Regions from separate parts of the Homo sapiens genome. Here region 1 is linked to region 2. Evidence: promoter capture Hi-C in 16 types of primary human blood cells and fetal thymus (Javierre and others, 2016). All regions are on one chromosome and are shown on one strand. The core of a region is centred on a gene start or on the middle of the fragment in contact, and the rest is flanking DNA. Distances in the headings are between cores, read along the strand shown.

What was found. Contacts are between HindIII fragments. The CHiCAGO score rates a contact against its expected background, and 5 or more counts as called.
Region 1: a fragment that was not itself captured here is called in contact with the fragment with the promoter of XPO6 in region 2 in 1 of 17 cell types (megakaryocytes); the score reaches 5.3 in megakaryocytes.

Annotation. Positions count from the first base shown.
Region 1 is chr16:27,633,968-27,640,339 of GRCh38, reverse strand. All of the region lies in intron 5 of KATNIP (katanin interacting protein), which reads right to left. Among named protein-coding and RNA genes, the nearest start is that of KATNIP, 87 kb to the right of the region's middle. RefSeq lists enhancers at 3,020-3,520, 6,001-6,372. The HindIII fragment of the contact is 4,214 bases long and covers 303-4,516 here.
Region 2 is chr16:28,209,496-28,215,762 of GRCh38, reverse strand. It overlaps XPO6 (exportin 6), which reads left to right and starts at 3,798. Exons shown (of 24, transcript NM_015171.4): 1 at 3,798-4,397. The coding sequence starts at 4,395. RefSeq lists a silencer at 3,561-4,050 and an enhancer at 3,680-4,678. The HindIII fragment of the contact is 3,886 bases long and covers 2,834-6,267 here.

The DNA of each region.
Region 1 (6,372 bases), core at 1,160-3,659, 570 kb after region 2:
ATGACTGTGCACCTGGCTAGCTCCCCGCTTGGCACGCTGCTGTACCTGAGTGGGTGTTTCAAAGCGGCTGCTCTTTCTTGCCTACTTGCAGCACCCAGACCTGGGTAGACCCTTGCAGTATCAATCATATGGGGGAGGAGGATTTAAAAGCAGTGACATCCCCAAATCCATGTTCCTTTTTGCAACCCAAGGCCAGCTTATTTCATACCTGGCCCACACTCAGCCCAGTTCATGCCTAGAGTTATTTGTTCATATCTGCCACCCCTCTTCGCAAACTGTTTTAAAAGGTGTGCATTAAAGCTTATTGTCAAGTAGAAAAAAAGAGCAAGGCTGGGGGCTGCCCCATATGGTTGTGTGGGTTGTGCAGTATGCAAATGGCTCCCTCTAGAGGTACGAGAGCTCTAAAACACTGACAAAGGTAGGTCTAGGGTTGGGAGGTCCGGCTGACTTGATGTGTTCATCCCTGATTTGTCTGATCTCTTAGAAATAGCAGTGCTCCCCACTCTGACAGTCTGTGTTGTGCAAGGTCACTGGAAAGGCCAATGCTTTACGGCTTGTTTCATTTGTCGTCCTCACTGCAAGGGTTTCAGAACTCAGAAGGAAGATAACAAGAGACAGGGCCCCCAACACTTCCCATTTTTACTTGTGAGATTTTCTGAAGGTGCTGAAGCTGCACAGGCCACAACAGGACACAGGATATGGTGGCTGAGTGAGAGCAAAGCCTCTGCTTTAATAATTGCAATGAACTTGCTTTAGAGACCTTTAAGGAACGCCCACCCCACAGTAAATTGCTGGAAGGCCAATCCCTTCACTAGCAATTTAATGCTAAGAGCCGATGACGTTCATCAAATCTGACAGCATTTTGGTAAACGACGGCTCTGTTGATTAGGCCGCTGTCCACCCAAGTATTACAAGGCTGAGGAAGCCATAAATCTTAATCCACAGATAGCAGCATAAAGATCTAAGGCCCAGAAGTGGTGGGGGGAAAAGGACAGTATGAACAAGAGGCCATACATCACCACCAGCCCATTCCACAGGGAAGGTGGCAGCTCGGGAGCCCAACACAGCCATCGCCATGATCCTCCCCAAACCCCCAGGAATCTGAGGGGCTTGGGAAGGGTTTTACAGGTGGAAGTCATCGGCTTCTTGGCCAGGAGCCAGAGTTGGGATGACTCTGTGACCTTCTGGTCAAGGGATCTGGAGGCCAGTGTACCTGACGCAGCCCCTCCTGTCAGGGCAGCTCTACCCAAATGTGCTTTCTTATTGTTGGGTGAGACCGTAAGAAGAGAAACCTGTTCTCCTGGAGGCGGTGAATGGATTGGGCTTGGTCAGTAGAAACAGGGTGTGTGATTCAAGAGAGTTTCAGGGCTGGGCGCAGTGGCTCACGTCTGTTAATCCCAGCACTTTAGGAGGCCAAGGTGGGTGGATCGCATGAGCCCGGGAGTTCAAGACCAGTGTGGGCTACATAGCAAGAACCTGTCTCAAAAAAAAAAAAAAAAAAAAATCCAGCAAGACAGCCAGGAGGAGAGTACAGAGGGTGAATGGGGAGGCAAGGGGGCTGTGTGGACTGTGAATAAGGCTGGGACTGCAGGTGCTCACTGTGCACTGGGACCACTGCATCCCACCACGGTGTCCCCTGCTGACCAATGTGAATACACAAGGCGACCGTGTGGCCCCACTGATACCTCCTGGTTGGCATGGCCCTACAAGTGAAACCCCAAGACCGGGAGAGGACTGTGGTCCCTCTCTTGGTGGAGCAGCTTTTGAGAACTGGCCACTGGCCACTGGGGACTTGGCTGCCTTGACCACTCTGCCTACCTTGGCTGCCCCTAAGCATGGCAGGAGCCCATCCAAAAGGGTTAGGATAGAAAGATTGTCTTCCTCTCCATCCCATGGACCCAAGACTCTGTCTCCATGGACTGTCTACCATGGAGAAACTTTGGACTTAACTCCACTTCTTGGAGCCAGAGCAAACCAATCCAGCCTGTCTTCCTCATGACGGTAATAATGGTATAGCTGGCACCCCCAGTCTATTCACTCTGCTACCTCCAGCCTTCTTGACAAGAAGCTATAGGACTCATGGTTCCTGCTCATGTGGCCAGGGCAGGCAGGGTTTGCACCAAATGAACTGGTCTCTGAGGGGCTCTAGTCATAGCCGATGGAGGTAGGAGGGGGTGCCTCATCCAGGCTAAGCAGCAGCAGCCCAGGCCATGCCCTGAGAAAGGGATGAGCTGAGAGATTCAGACTGTCTCTGTCTTGGAAACTTTCAACTAACAAATATGGAGGGAGTGTAAAACCGTGTGTGGAGAAGGCACGATGGATCAGGGGAACACTGAAGCTACGAGTTGGCGGCAGCTCAGGGACAGGGAACAGAAGTGCAAGGACGGGGGCTGGGGAAGGTTGGTGGAGAGAGACGTAGCCCTGCTTCAAAGGCTTCCTGGTCCTCCTGTAGCCCCTTGCTCCCATGGGCGGTCCTTTCTGCACACATGAACCCAAAATATGAACCCAAACGTGGCGCTCTACTGTTTCAACCCTCTTGGAAATTCTCACATTTAGATTGAAATCCAAACTTCCTCCTGTGGTCTTCTAGGCCCTGCATGGCCGGTTCTTCCTACTTGCAACCCTGACACCCTCATCCCCACCCTTTCTGCCACCCTGTCCTGATCGCCCTGCCTCCTCTCAGCCTGTGCCCAGTGCCCGCTGCTCTCACTGTCCCCTCACCTGAAAGCCTCCCCCAGCCACAGATCTTTCCGGGGCTGGCTCCAGGTAACTCTCAGGCCCTGGCTGCGATGCGGCCCCTTGGGAGGCTGTGCTGCCCACCTTCGCTGAAGGAGCGCTCCCCCGACAGCTTCTCTTTCAGGCTGCTGTCCTCTGTCCTTCCTTCGTAGCACTGTCTTCCGACTCCCTTGCTTGCCTTTGGTCCTTTGCCTTCCCAACCTCCCCACCCGCTCCCCATCAACATGAGCTCCAGGAGAGCAGGGCTGGCCTCACTTATTGCTTGGAACCCGGCATCTGTAAGTGCCAAAACTGAGTATGTGCTCAATACATGAGCACGGAATGAAAGAAGTAAAGTATGAGTGAGCAAAGGAACATACTAGAGTGAAGAGCCCTGAGGCCTCCAGGCTGAGCTGCCCTCCCCATCTGCCCCTCTGTGATTAAAACAACAACAGGCAGCACCATTCACTATTTCTCCTGTGCCAGGCACTGCTTCAGCTTCTCTCCAAACACAGACCCCACTGATCCTCATTAATTGCCCTCATTAATTACCATTACCAACCTCACATGACAAATGAGAGCGCAGGCACCAAGGGGTTAAGCGTCTTAGCCACTGTGCAGCTGGCAGGAGGCGGAGCCAAGGCTTTGCACTGGGGCTGCTGGAAGGTTCCAGGGTCTATGCTCTTAGCCATTCCTCTGGACTTGTCTGTCACCTGTTCCCACCTGAAGCAGCAGGCAGCCCCTGCTGAGACCACCTGTAATGCACGCTGCACATGCTCCCCTCCAGCAGCCCTGGGAGGTTTCATTGATGATGAAACCAAAGCTCAGAGTGGTTACACGGCCAGCTCCAGAGCACACAGCTCACAGAGGTTACATGGCCAGGTCTGGGGTGCACAGCTCAGAGAGGCTACACAGCCAGCTCCGAGACACACAGCTCAGAGAGGTTACTCAGCCAGCTCTGGGGCACACAGCTCAGAGAGGTCACATGGCCAGCTCCAAGACACACAGCTCAGAGAGGTTACACAGAGAGCTCCAGGGCACACAGCTCAGAGAGGTTACACAGCCAGCTCCAGGGCACACAGCTCACAGAGGTTACACGTACATAGCTCAGAGAGGTTACACAGCCAGCTCCAGGACACACAGCCAGTGAGCAGTCCAAAGCCTACTCCTTCCACTCTCCAGGGGCTACAAATTCAAATGCCCCAAAGAACCAGACGGGAAATGGAAACACGAGATAAGAGAAATCATAGCCTAAATCTGATAATAAACCACAGCTACCACTCAGCCTCACCACTGAAGCTCTGGGGAGTGGTGGGGACTTTGGCAAACAGGAAAGCTCATGCCCTATCCAAAGGCAGTAGCTGGACTTGGCTCCTGCTGCTGGCTGCCTAGTGGGGAGGAGGATGGCCCAGCGTGGGGGCCAGACTTTTCCATTTTTTCCAGGGAAGAAGAGATCTAGATTTTTGATTTTGAGATAGGGTCTTGCTCTGTCCCCCAGGCTAGAGTGCAGTGGTGCGGTCATGGCTCACTGCACCCTTGAACTCCTGGCTTCAAGCGATCCTAACTGTCTCAGCCTCCTCAGTAGCTGGGACTAGAGGTGTGCGCTACTATGCCTGGCTAATTTTTTTATTTTTAGTAGAGATGGGACTCACTATGTTGCCTGGGGTGGTCTTGAACTCCTGAGCTCAGGTGATCCTCCTTCCTCGGCCTCCCAAAGTGCTAGGATTAGAGGCATGAGCCATTGCACCTGGCTAGATATATTTTTAATATAAAATCTTGTTAATTTAAATGTTGGCAAGCTTCGAAAAGTCTTTTAAAAGCTGTATGAGCCCAACAACCATTATCTGGGGGCAAGTTTGACCCACAGGCTTCAAGTGGTTAACTTCTGGACCCCGCCAGGCCCGCCATCCATGTATTTGAAGTCAGGTGTCACACCCTCCTCCCAGTTAAGCAGTCCCCATGTCTTCACAGCCCGAGCTTCAAAGGCAGGAACTGAGCCTTCTTGAATTTTTTTTTTTTTTGAACCCTAGAGCCTTGCACAGTGCCTGGGCCCTGCTGGGTATCAATACATGTCTGTTAAATTAACAGATGATTTCATTCATGACACATGTAGTTCATTCACCACTTTTGAATGCTCCCTGGTTTGTGTCTATCTTTAAGGTTGGTTCCCAAAAGCCTGGGTGTGTGGAGCAGAGTCCATGCTCTAGACTGGAGGGGGCCGGCTCTCGGTACCCATCCCACACTCCTCCTGGGGAGCCTTTCTGTGGGGTAGAGGCCAGAAAGCCAAATACTGCATTTCCCAGACTCCCTTTCTAAAGCTGTCCTCACAGGGTTAACAAGAATTCTCACAGAATATAGTTATAATTCAGCATTAATCACTGCACTTTGACCCACTTCCTTGTAACTGAAATTCACTGGATACTGACCATTAGCATTCCCATTATTCCTTATAGATTTCTGACTGTAGAATCATTAAGGCTTTTGTTTAAGAATTGCTTAAGATGTTTTTCAGATCTTAAATTCCAGCAAAACAACTCACGCTAGCCAGTTTGAAGGCCCCCCACAGAAGAACGGGATCTGCGTGAGAACACAGCTTCTTCATCTCCCTGTCCCGTGACTTCCCCCTGCACTCTTCCACCAATCAATGATCTCCACACATCAGCCTACTCCAAAACCCTTAAAAACACTGGCCCCAAACTCCTCCGGGAGACAGATTTGAGGTTTCCTTCCATCTCCTCGTTTGGCGGCCCTACAATTAAATCTCTCTCTCTGCTGAAACCCAGGGTCTATGTGTATAGACTTGCCAGCATCGTGCAATGGACCTATTATGGTTACATTTTGGCTTGGGTTCTGGGTGTGATTTAGGTTCAGCCAATCAGATGGCCTCACACGAGCCAGGGAAAGCAGAAGTGAGGTGAGGAGAGGAGGGGGATAGATGTTGGCTGTTTCAGTGCTAAGCACAGGGCATGGAGTTCTTCCATAATGTTCCTGACTGGCTAGCCAGGCTGCGGGGCAGGGTCTTCATAGCGCTGTCCCAGCAGGCATGGAGTCACTCTGAGGCCAACAGCTGGGGCAGTAACTCCCTGATTCCTGGATTGCAGCTAAGGTGACACCTTCCTGATGCTGATACCCCACCTTCCCAATGGTGTCCTAGGCAGCCGCTCTCCTGGCAGGCCCAGGCTAAGTGGCCATGCTTTTGAGGCACCATTCCTAGAGGCCCAGCCCAGAGTCCCCTCCTCATGCTAGCCCAAGGACTTCGTAAGCACCCGACTCCCTGCACTGCATTTGTTTCTGCTTAAAATAGCCTGAGTGGTCTCTGCTGTTAGGCACTGACTGACCCCTGACTGATACAGTGTAGAAGGACAATTACAGCCCTCGAGGCATCAGGAAATCAGGAAATTAGCTATGATTAGGCCCTGTGAAGTGTGGGACCACAAGGAGAGACTGAGGAGGATGCTAATTAATCTTAGGCCAAGTTTTTTAAATTGCACAGACTCTAGGGCCAGCTATTAAGCCACAATCTAAGACACAAATATGGCTCCTGATAATAGAAGGCTCTCAAAACAAGTAGAAGAACTGTCTTAAGTGAGAAGTGAAGAAAGGCCTCATTAGCAACAAATTAATATTCATTGCAGGGGACAAAAGGAGGCCTCCAGG
Region 2 (6,267 bases), core at 2,549-5,048:
CTCTCTTTTGCTGGATTTGAACAGGGAATTTTGTGGCCCTGGCTGTTCCTGGCAACCACCTTGACAACAAGTCTGATAATGGAGAAGAGCAGAGCAAGGAAGTCCTAGAGGAATGGCCGGGCGTGGTGGCTCATGCCTGTAATCCCAGCACTTTGGGAGGCCGGGGTGGGCAGATCACTTGAGCTCAGAAGTTGGAGACTAGCCTGGGCAACACAGTGAGACATTGTCTTTGCTGAAAAAAAAAAAATCAGCTGGGCATAGTGGCGCACACCTGTAGTCCCAGCTAACTGGGAGTTTAAGGTGAGAGGCTTGCTTGAGCTTGGGAGGTCGAGACTGCAGTGAGCTGTGATTGCGCCACTGCACTCTAGCATGGAGAACAGACTGAGACCCTGTCTCAAAAAAATAAAACAAAACAAAACAAACAAACAAACAAACAAACACACACAAAACCACACACAGAAAAAAAAGAAAATCCTAGAGGAATGGATCTAGGCCTCCCATCACACCCAGCCAAAAGCTAATGAATCTCTGGAAGTCCAGTTATGTAACCCAAAGGCATACCCTTAAGTGAGTCAGTTGCATTTCTGTTATCTCATTCAATTTTACAGTAAGGAAACCAAGACTTCGAGAGTCAATAACTCAAGATACCTTAGCTAGTGAAGTTAAGAGCTGGATTCCACTCCAAATGAGTCTCAACCCAAAGCTTTCACTCATCCTACTAAACTAAGCCAAGTAAGTGACTTGGCCTCCATTCCGATTCATCAGCTTACCTACTGAGATGGCTTCTCTTGTACATGCTGTTTCTACTGCCTGGAATGTTCTATGCCCCCTCTCTTTGCCTAGCAAACTCCTGCTTCTTTAAGGCCAAAGCTTAAAGAAATGTCACTTCCTGACTTCCTCCCCATCCTAATCTGCCAGATTATTTTAGATCCCTTGGCCTTATTAGCGTGTAAACTATATTAAAGTTATATCATGTTAGTTTCAATTTTTCCTTCATTGCTCTTATCACAATAACTGATCCATTATTGTACAATATTTTACAAATAATTTGTCTTTAAATTCCATAAGGGCACACATATATTTGTTTTGCTCAGCATTGAATCCTTGAAATAGTGACTGTCACTTAGTGGACAACAATAAAGATTTGATAAAATAAATGTGCTTGAGGCTGGGCATGGTGGCTCATGCCTGTAATCCCAGAACTTTGGGAGGTCGAGGTGGGCGCATCACTTGAGGTCAGGAGGTGAGACCATCCTGGCCAACATGGCGAAACCCCGTCTCTACTAAAAATACAAAAATAAATTTAGCTGGGTGTGGTGGCAGGTGCCTGTAATCCCAGCTACTTGGGAGGCTGAGGCAGGAGAATTGCTTGAACCTGGGAGGCAGAGGTTGCAGTGAGCCGAGATTGCACCATTGTACTCCAGCCTGGGCAACAAGAGCGAAACTCCCTCTCAAGAGAAAAAAAAATAGTGCTTGATGGCCTGGCGCGGTGGCTCATGCCTGTAATCTCAGCACTTTGGGAGGACGAGGCGGGTGGATCACCTGAGGTCGGGAGTTTGAGACCAGCCTGACCAACATGGTGAAACCCCGTCTCTACTGAAAATACAAAAAATTAGTTGGGTGCGGTGGTGGGCTCCTGTAATCCCAGCTACTTGGGAGGCTGAGGCAGGAGAATTGCTTGAACCCAGGAGGCGGACGTTGCGGTGAGCCGAGATCATGCCATTGCACTCCAGCCTGGGCAACAAGACCGAAACTCTGTCTCATTAAAAAAAAAAAAAAAGTGCTTGAGGCTGGGAGTTTGAGGCTGCAGTGAGCCATGATCATGTCACTGCAACAGAGTGAGACCCTTTCTCCAAAAACAAACAAACAAACAAACAAACAAAAAACTAAAAAACCCCTGAAAGCTATTGCTTTCAGTGGTAAAGTGTTGTATCAGTGGTTCTCCAAATGTGGTATCTAGACCTGCAGCATCAGCTTCATTTGGGAGCTTGTTAGAAATGCAAATTATTCAGCCCCATCTCAAACCTACTGGATGGGAAAGTCTATGAGTGGAGCGAGTAATCTTTGTTTTAACAGTCCTTCTGGGTGAATTGATTCAGATCACACTGAGGTTTGACAGGAAAGAAAAATAGCTCAGGGAAGTCTGAGTTATGTGAAGTATGCAAAATTTGTCAGGTCCACTGAGACTTGTGTATGGGAGTTCGGGCACACTCCCACCTCCACATGCTCGGGGACAATTGTTTAAAGATATTTTGTTCCAGACTAGCTGCCTCCCCCATTTCCTTCAGGTTCCTGAAATTTGTGATACAAAGAACAATGTATAGGCAATAGCTTATGTTATTTTTTCCCCCTTTCTCATCATTCCTATTCAACCTTATGTTATGCCTCTTTTTTCCTTAGAAACCCACTTGAAGCCAGGCGGGAGGGCTCACGCCTGTAATCCCAGCACTTTGGGAGGCCGAGGCTGGCGGATCACCTGAGGTCGGGAGTTCAAGACCAGCCTGGCCACTATGGTGAAACTCCGTTTCTACTAAAAATAAAAAAAATAGCCGGGCATCATGGTGGGTGCCTGTAGTCCCAGCTACTCGAGAGGCTGAGGCAGGATAATCGTTTGAACCCGGGAGGCGGAAGTTGCAGTGAGCTGAGATTGCACCATTGCACTCCAGCCTGGGCGACAAAGCGAGACTCCGTCTCAAACAACAACAACAACAAACTACACTCTAGTCTGGGCGACAGAGCAAGACCCTGTCTTAAAAACAAACAAACAAACAAGGAAACCCCATTTGTAACTGCCACTAATTGGACTATACTTCTGGTGGGCCATCTTCAAGCTTCGGGCTTGAATAAACCCTATACTTAAATACTATTTTCTCAATCTCGTTATTTAAGGTTGACAAGGGCCATTGGGTTACATAGATTTGCTCCAATCTATGTAGTAGGCACACCCGCGGGCTCAACCTCAGCTGTTTGGGATAGTTTCCTGACTGTTTCTTAAAATTAGCACTTTCAGCCTGGCTGGATGACTCATACCTGTAATCCCAGCACTTTGGAAGGCTGAGGCAGGAAAGCTGCTTGAGCCCAGGAGTTCCAGACCAGCCCAAGCATCAAAAGGAGGCCTCACCTCTGCAAAAAATAAAAAAATTTAGCTGGGCATGGTGGCGCACCAGGAGGTTGAGGCTGCAGTGAGCCATGATTGTGTTACCGCACTCCAGCCTGGGCAACAGAGCAAGAACCTGTCCCCAAAAATAAAACAAAATAAAGATGAGCACTTTCACGAGTAAAGTGGATTGGAGGATGGGAACAGGAATCCAACACATTCTCTGCCTCTCTCAGCACCTTGGCTATCGAAGTTACGTTTATCTCCCCTGTCCTAGCATCCACAGCAGGGCCTGGAATATAGTCGGGCAAGAGTGTGTGGACTGCATGAATGTAAGCTCCATAGGGCCGCGTGTCGTCACGCTGCCAGCTCGATGCTCCGCCCGTAAAAGGCACTCACTAAAATTTTAGCGGAATGAATGGGCGAAAAAAGCGAAAGGGAAACCACGCCTTTACTAAAATGGCAGCCCGGGCTCCCTTTACCAAGATGGCTGCCGGCCCGCGTGGACGCACGGGCGGTGGGCGCAGGGGGCGGGGCAAGAGAGGGCGTGGTAAGAAGGCGGGGCCAGTGGGAGCCGTCAGGTGCAGCCCCGCCCTCCGCCCTCCGCCCGCTCCCCCCGCTCGCCCCGCTCGATTCCGGATTGGTCCGGTTCCAGCGCCGCAGCCCGGCGGCCGCGCTGTGGGGCCGCCCGGCGCTCGCCACTTCCGGCGCGTTGGGGCTGTTGGTCGGGGGCGGCCGCGCGGTACTAGCGGGCGGCTCCAGGGCGGGCGCGCGCAAGGATGCTCTAGGGGGCGGCGGCAGTGGCCGTGTGGGTTGAGGCTGCGAGGACAGCGCGGGCCCCCGGGCCTCTCCCCTGAGCCGGCCGCCTGGGCCGCGCGGTCGAGGCCTGTCAGCCTCCGCCCGTTCAGCCTCGGGGCCGGGGCCGCCGCCACCTCTGCCCGCGGAGGCCGGGGAGCCCCTGCCTGGGCCCGCAGCCTCCCCCGCGGGGGTCGGGCCCGGGCGGGGGTCCCGAGCAGCTGCCCTCCTCGCCGGCATCCGAGCCTCATTTCCTGCTTTTTCAGTTTCCTTGGGGAGGGGCGGGTGGGTCTGGATGAATTGTCTCGGGGTCCCCCGATGAGGCGACCCGGGCGGCCCTGCCCTTTTTAGAGGGTCCCCTCGGGGCCCGGTGGGGAAGGGGTTGTCTTTGCATGGGTGGGGGACTTCCCGAGTCTGCCGGGACCATGACCTGAACTGTGCGAGCGGGACGTGTCCGAAGCCCAAGAACCAGCTCATCTGAGCCGCCCCCTCCCCGGCCAGCATGGTAAGTGGAATTGGAGCCCCCTTCCCTCCTGGGGTGCCCTACCGGAAGGGTGGGAATGGGCCCCGGGGCTGCTGAGCCATCGCTGCTCTCCCCATGGCGGGGAGAGGCGCGTGCGGAGCCTGGCCGGTGACACATGCGTGCAGAGTGTGCAGCCCCGGCCCTGCGCTCCCATCCCCCCAGGGATGATGGCTCAGGCCTGGGAGGGCCCTGGGAGCGCAGCAGGCACAACCCTTGCATCTGGTGTTTGCCTCCTGCAGCTCCTCCGGATAATAACTATCGTTTATTGAGGGCTTACTACTTGCCAAGGCCCTGCGCGAAGTGATTGACAGTGCAGTAGTATTTAATGATCACACCAGCCCTCTGTTCGGAAGTGGGGAGACTGAGGCACGGAGCAATTAATTCCCCAGCTCAAGGTCAAGCGACTTTTTAACAGTGTTAAGATTTGAACCTAGGCATCTGACTTTGAACCTAGGCATCTCTAATACACTTAGAGAGCTGGGTGATTGTAGGAGAAACATCTCATCTAGCTGTAGGTTTATATATGAGGAAACAGAGCGATTTACAGAGGTCACTTGCACAGGTGATGGCAAAGTCAGGAATGGTCGTGATCTTTTGACACTGAGGCTGCTATTCTACATGCTCTGATCTCTGCTGAAGCTACCTTCCACGTTTTCTAGACCGATACTTTCAATACTCCCCTAAATGTGTGTACTCACATCTCTTTGTGTATCCACATCTCCACGTTTTCTAGACCGATACTTTCAATACTCCCCTAAATGTGTGTACCCACATCTCTTTGTTAAGCATTTGCCTTTTTGCTCTTGTAATTATTTCTGAGCCTTATCTGTCTATTGCGGTATACACAGCTCCTTCAAAGACCAAATTGTTTGAACCCTTATCTGCTCCAGCTCCTGGCACATAGTAAGCCCTTGGTAAGTACTGGATCACCTAGCCTGTGGTTGAGCACCTCGAGGAGTGGAGCTGTTCTCCTCAGTTTCACCCATTTTACCCCTGCCAAGTTAGTGGTATAATAGAGAAAGGGACATAGCTGCATCTTTTGTGATACAGACCTTAAGGCCTGTGGAATTTTCGAAACATTCAAGGGGCCTGTGGGTAGTGTGTAGGTCCTGAGATATGGAGCTTACAACCAGCTGGGTAAAGTACACCATTAATGCTGAGCAGCACCGTACAGTATATGCTATACGTATAGTGTATGTGTTTTATTTTTATTTGTTTTGAGACAGGGTCTTGCTTTGTTTCCTAGGCTGGAGTGCAGTGGCACGTTCATGGCTCACTGCAGCCTCGACCTCCTGGGCTCAAGCAGTCCTCCCACCTTAGCCTCCCAAGTAGCTGGGGCTGCAGGCAAGTGCCACCATGCCTGGCTAATTTTTTGTGGAGATGAGGTCTCACCACGTTCCCCAGGCTGGTCTTGAACCTGAGCTCAAGTGATCCGTCCTCCTCAGCCTCCCAAAGTGCTGGGATTACAGGCGTGAGCCACCGTGCACAGCTGAGTCTATGTATTTTAACATATATATTACACAGTATGAATTGTGGCAAATCAGTTAAGCTCTCAGTTCCAATTTCCTCAACTATGAAATTTGGGGATAGGATTTCTCTAAAGAGTAATCTAGAGGTATGAGGTATAACATTTAGTGGCTAATGAAAGTAGCACTCATTCCTTCCTTCATTTATTCTTTCAGTAATGCTTTTTTTTTTTTTTTTTTTGAGATGGAGTTCAGCTGTTGTTGCCCAGGCTGGAGTGCAGTGGTGCAGTCTCAGCTCACGGCAACTTCTGCCTCCCGGGTTCAAGTGATTCTCCTGCCTCAGCCTCCCGAGTAGCTGGGATTATAGGCATGCGCCACCATGCCCG